Linked DNA regions of Homo sapiens: region 1 is linked to region 2. Evidence: promoter capture Hi-C in 16 types of primary human blood cells and fetal thymus (Javierre and others, 2016). All regions are on one chromosome and are shown on one strand. The core of a region is centred on a gene start or on the middle of the fragment in contact, and the rest is flanking DNA. Distances in the headings are between cores, read along the strand shown. Region 1 overlaps ADGRF1 (adhesion G protein-coupled receptor F1). Region 2 holds the start of MEP1A (meprin A subunit alpha).

The links. The method cuts DNA at HindIII sites, captures the fragments that hold promoters and counts their contacts. A CHiCAGO score of 5 or more calls a contact.
Region 1: a fragment that was not itself captured here is called in contact with the fragment with the promoter of MEP1A in region 2 in 1 of 17 cell types (M2 macrophages); the score reaches 5.5 in M2 macrophages.

Annotation. Positions count from the first base shown.
Region 1 is chr6:47,038,534-47,041,796 of GRCh38, forward strand. The region is part of intron 1 of ADGRF1 (adhesion G protein-coupled receptor F1); the gene reads right to left. Among named protein-coding and RNA genes, the nearest start is that of ADGRF1, 2.2 kb to the right of the region's middle. The HindIII fragment of the contact is 3,019 bases long and covers 168-3,186 here.
Region 2 is chr6:46,791,880-46,795,019 of GRCh38, forward strand. MEP1A (meprin A subunit alpha) reads left to right here and starts at 1,510. Exons shown (of 14, transcript NM_005588.3): 1 at 1,510-1,588; 2 at 1,673-1,697; 3 at 1,787-1,837. The coding sequence starts at 1,520. The HindIII fragment of the contact is 4,281 bases long and covers 1-2,492 here.

The DNA.
Region 1 (3,263 bases), core at 427-2,926, 250 kb after region 2:
CAGATCAGGGTAATTAGCATATCCATCATCTCAAACGTTTATCATTTCTTTGTGTTGGGAACATTGAATACTCTCCTTCTAGCTATTTGAAACTATATATTATTGTTAAGTATAATCATTCTACAGTGGTATAGAACACTAGAATTTATTCCCCCTGTCTAGCTGTAAGCTTGTTTAATGAGGCCCTTTTCCTATAAAATTCTGACCTAAATATATTTTTAAAATTCTACTGCTATCTACATCTTTTACCAATTACTTGCTTAATTGATACCTTGTTCAACAACGTAAAAGACTATGATATGCCTAAGAAATATATCATTAAGTGTCTTATCAGAAATAATTAGCTTGATTATCTAAGAGACGAAGCATAGGAAAGTCTCCAAGTAGAGTCGGGCTGCATGCAGTACAAACACAAGTGTAAAAGGTGTTCATGGAAAATATAATCTGCTTAACACAAATTCTCTTTACCCAAAACTTTGCAGGTGTGAATCTGTTGTACTATGACAGGCTGTCCCAACTTCACAAATGTATAATAAATATCTGCTTATCCCAAAACAATAAAGAAACTCTTATCAGGTTTTAAAGTTTTGTCTTCCAAGAAAGAAGAAAAGAATAAGAAAATTTTCTTAAGGACTTTAAAGTCTTTAGATTTGTGGACCTCTGGAGATTAAAAACTGACATTTGCACTAAAACCAAGAAGACACCATGAGGATCTGATAATGCTCATCAATAAAATGTAACTAGAGTTTGCAGTTTTAGGACTGCATACCTCATTGCTGCTCATCTCTGCATTTTCTTTATTCAACTGACTACACATAGGAAATTTATTTTAACTCTATGAAATGCTAGGGCATATTCCACTTCTATTATTAATTCCTATGAATTTTCATTCTCAACATGCCAGGTCCCAGTTTCCATCAGCCACTGACCAGGAGCCTCTATGAGATTATCTGTGGCTTACTGGGGAGGGGATGTGATAAGAAGGCTTCCCTTTCTTAGTGGTTTTGTGTACTATGGGTTGAGTTTATCAAGGCTTGAACCCAGCTGTGAATGGAAGAGTGTATGTTTCAGACCACGATGCTATAGACCTTTTGTACTATCCCTCCAAGATCCTAAATTGTTTTCACATCTATTAAAACCATGTATCTCTGGGCATGGTGGCTCACGCCTGTAATCCCAGCACTTTGGGAGACCAAGGCCGGTGGATTACTTGAGGTCAGGAGTTTGAGAAGAGCCCAGCCAATATAGTGAAACTCTGTCTCTACTAAAAATACAAAAATTAGCCAGGCGTAGTGGCAGATGCCTGTAATCCCAGCTACTCAGGAGGCTGAGACAGGAGAATTGCTAGAACCTGGGATGTGGAGGTTGAGGTGAGCCGGGATTGTGCCGCTGCACTCCAGCCTGAGCAACAGAGTGAGAAACTCTGTCTCAAAAATAAATAAATAAATAAATAGATAAATAAAATAAAATAAAACCATGTATCTATCCAGTCAAGAAATCTGAAGGCCTTGAAATCTTGCGAGCACTACTCTGCTAAGACAAACACAATTTAGGAAAATCCCAAGACATATGTATTTGGCAACAGCGTTTCCCCTTCTCTACAAGCTATGGGTGTTCCCTGCCAAAGAACATTAAAAAGAGAACCAGGTGGCTGAGCGTGGTGGCTCACGCCTGTAATCCCAGCACTTTGGGAGGCCGAGACAGGAGGATCACGAGGTCAGGAGATCAGGAAATTGAGACCATCCTGGCCAACACAATGAAACCCTGTCTCTAATAAAAATACAAAAAATTAGCCAGGCATGGTGGTGGATGCCTGTAGTCCCAGCTACTCGGGAGGCTGAGGCAGGAGAATGGCGTGAACCCGGGAGGTGGAGCTTGCAGTGAGCCGAGATCACGCCACTGCACTCCAGCCTGGGCGACAGAGTGAGACTCCGTCTCAAAAAATAAAATAAAATAAAAAAAAAAACAGGCAAAATATTTTGAAAGTTACAAATATAAACATTTAGATTAGGTAGGTTACACAGCACAGTTTCCTAAGGGTGTCCTTAAGCAAAATTGTGAATTCAGTGACACTTGTCCCGGGGATGCCACTCCCCCACTTTCTGACTTGTGCACCCTTGTGACGCACACCCCACCACTGCTAATGCCCTCAGATACCCAGTGCCCTCTTGCTCCTGCCAGTTTTTACTTTACTTACTCTCAGCCAAAGCACTAAAATCATTTATTTATATCCAAATTTGAATGAATGTGTTCATTTACTTTTTTAAAGAGATGTTTGCATTCCTTTAGTTGTGTAATGAAAGACATTAGAAGGCACATTGTTGTGAAAGTATGGTGCTTTCCTTGCCCTCAGCCCAGCAACAGACAGACCCTGTTATTGGGACACTGTCCCTGTTTTTTAAGAAATTTACTCTACTTTTGGAGAAGAAAGACATACAAGGCATCCAACAATAATTCACATCAGCTTGGGGTTGTGCACAAAAGGTGAGTTTGCAAGTTGAGCTTGTCAGACTCCACAGGCATACACTCCTATTTCCAATCTTAACGCTTATTGGCACCATTTTACAAATGAAATAACCAGGATAAGACAACTAAATAATTTGCTCAATGTTTTACTACTTGTCAAAGGTTGAATAAAGTATTATGGGACCATTATTAGAACACTGTTGTCAATTTGGGTTATGGTTAGATAATGAGTGGTGTTTTCTTAATGACAACAGAGCATAATAAAAGGCTTGTGTTAATATTCTAACATATTAAAGAATGTACTTTTATTTATTTTTTGTTATTCTTGCCTCTGTTTGTAATTTCCAGCCCATGAATGCTATTATCAAGTTGAGCTTAATGGATCTCAGCATGAAAAAGCCAAGGTCATCACTTCTCCACACCTCTCCCACCTTGACCTTCTTTCTATATCTCCTTCGGTATTTTTCCTTCATGTAGTCTCTGGCATGGTACATTACATAGGCTATCAGGTTTACATAAATGGATTTTTCATGAAAACAAAGAAAAGAGAAAAGAAAAATTATATATTTTCAAGGCCTCTACTAAGAAAATACAGTGTGACATTTTATATTTATTTGGGGAAGTAGCAGGAGAAATGGTTAGTCAATTCTAGGGTTTTTTGGAGTCCTGGGAAGGAGTTAAATTGAGAAGTACTTCCTGGATATATATGGATCCAGGCAAAGCTTAAACTAATTCACCCTAAAGGAAAAATAAGCTTAATTCTCTCAAGCATAATTTTATTTTAAGAGATTGCAAGG
Region 2 (3,140 bases), core at 260-2,759:
TGTGGAATTTTGTGCACATATGTGTGAGTTCCTTTAGCATATAGACCTAGAAGTGAAGTTTCTATCTTATGAACTGTGCACATTTCAACTTCATTAGATAGCATCAAATTGATGTCCTACTAGATTTCCTATTTTCTTACCTTCTTGTTGACACTTGATATTGTCAGTCTTCTTAATTTATGCCAATCTTAGCTTGAGGTGGTATTTTACTGCTATTTGAACCTATAATTTTTCTGATTACTTACGAGGCTAAAAATCTTTTTACATATTTATTGGCCATCTGGGTCTTTTGTGAATTTGCTACTCATATTTTTTGTTCATTTTTTCCTTAGATAATCTCCTGTTCTTTTTATTGATTTGTAGAAATTCTTTACATATCCTGAATACTTATTCTTATTCAATTATATGCAGTATACATATCATCTCTCACCTGTGGCTTGTCTTTTAATCATGTTATGTTTTTGTCATAAAGAAGTTTAAATTTTGATACAGTCAAATGTATTATTCTTTTCCTCTGTAATTTCTATGTTTTTTTCATGTTTAAGCAATCTTTCTTGACCTAAAGGTTAAAAATATGTTCCTATATTTTCTTTTTTGAAGTTTATATTTTCATATTTAAATTTTTAATCTATCTAGAATTTATTTTTGTCAATGGTATCAGGTGTACATTTAATGTATTTCCTCATATGGAAATGCAATTATTCCCACATTATTATGAAAGAGACCCAAGTTTCCCTCTTGCCTTTTTGGTTCCTCTTATACATAAAAGCCCTGCATATGCTTGCATCTATTTGGATATTACCTATTCCAGTCTATAGATTCATTTTATCTTTATTTTTGGAACTATTACACTCTAATTACTGTAACTTTACCAAAGCTCCTGATATTCTTTTGAGGCAATTCTTTTCTCTTTATTCAGCCTTTTCAGAATTTTCTTATCTATTCTTCAATGTTTACTCTTTCATGCGAATTGAACCATTTGTCAGCTTGGCAAGTTCCACTGAAAACCCTGTTAGATTTTTTACTAGAATGACAATGAATTTATAGATTAATATTAAAACAATCTATTAATATTTCATACATATGTACATATAGAGAGAGAGTCAGGTATTTTTATGTCCTTCAATAATTGCTTTATAACATTTCCATAAAATTTGAATTTATATTTTATTAGAATTAAATAATAATAATTTTATAAATTATTTTTATTTTTATTGTTAAGGGGATCGTCTATCCTGTTTTATGATATGAATGGCTATGGCTGCCCTATAGGAATGTTATTAGTTCTTATATGCTCATTTCCGTATTAATTTTTCAAACTTTTCCCCAGTCTTTGGAGCTTAAGCATTTAAGGTAAACTTAGTGTTTGTCCTCGAAAGAGTCAATGATGTTATCTTTGACAACCTTTATTGGCACTACGGTACATATGGAAGGGTCAAAGTTTCTAATACGACCGTCAGGGTAAAGTCTAAACGGTATTTATGACAAGGTGTGTGCTAAAATCAGCTCACTTGCAGCAATGGCTTGGATTAGATCCACTTGCATTCTCTTTTTTACCTTGCTTTTTGCCCACATAGCAGCTGTACCGGTAAGTCGAGTCCTGCTTTTTGGATATTTAGAAATATTAATTCTAGTATACATTATCCATTTTCTGTATATTTATTTTTTTCAGATTAAGTATCTTCCTGAAGAAAATGGTAAGAATTAGTTCAAATGCACAGAGAGTGTTTTTGAACTTTTTTCCTTCGGCAAGACTAATAATAATTTTTTTTCTCACTTTTAACAGTACATGATGCAGATTTTGGTGAACAGAAGGATATTTCAGAAATCAATTTAGGTGAGTTCAATTTTTGTGTTATTAAAGTCTTGAAATTACTTGAAACCCAGTGGTGGGATTACTGAACACTTTCCTTCCTAATACTGTATTGTGATTCTCTGGGGGAGAAATATTTTTTGGTGCTTTGTGAGAAATTGCATTTTCTGAAAGATAAAAATGCGGAAAGAGAAGATAGTTAGACCAGACTTTCTAGGAGAGCTAGGAAGTCCTCAATGGATCTAGAAATATGTAACAAGTTTCTCTTTATAAAAATTTTATTTTTCCAATTTGTATTTGGAGGAAAAGGAAAGCAAATAGATAATTATTCCGATTGTTAAAGAAAAATATAAGAATAAGCCTCTGGTTATATTTAGTGGGGAAACAAAACCCAACCCCTCCACTGGCCCATCATATTCACTAACAACTCCTCGGTTGAGACTTAGGGGTGAGTGTAAAGCAATCTCCACTTAGACATCTCATTTACAAATATATTTCTTGAAGAAATTCATCAGTCTCATCCATTACTGAGAGGAGAGAGAAGCTGAGTCATCATCTCTGTTTTCTCTCTGTTGTCCTGCTTCTGAAATGAGAGAGAAGCCTCTGCATTCCCAGTGTCTTAGGTCAGGATTTGTGGAAGCAGAGCTATTCATGATAATAAGTACCTTCAGTTTACAAAAGCTTTTATATGCAATTGCATATTTATTTGTCCAGTCTTGTCGTGGAGTAAGTGCTGTTTTCATTTTTTTGGGAAGCGACAGGTGGCTTCTCATGGGTAGAGTGACTTGCTCAAGATCATAGGTAGCAGTGATGGGGCTTACTTCCAGATCTTGTAGCCCATACCTTAATAGCTCAGTGCTATCTGAAGGCTACAAAACTAACATACCAATAACTAAGGGTCAATTTTTCTGGCTTTGTCTCACTCACAGAGAAGCCAGTTAGTTGATATTTAATTGGAATAGCTGGAGAATGGCTGCATAGGCAGAGCAGAAATAGTTTAGGAAGGTAAATGGGTGAATGCATAAATGGGTCCCAAGACTTCAGAGCCAGGCACTAAAATATCTCTCTTTAGAGTTAGCCATTGTGTAAACAGTTCAGAGAATCTGCTGTATTTTACAACAGAAATGGGATTAGAATTAGAGTTTTTCTAATCTCATCATTATTTATCTAATAAAAATTAATTATTTACCTCTTTGCCATTTTGTACTCTTTAGGCCCACCACCACCTCTGATCCTTGACCCCAGTGGAGAAATCTCATTACCATGTAAATCTTCTTTTTAGGCCATTTCAACCAAACCACCAGGATTGATTGGGTTAGCCATATGG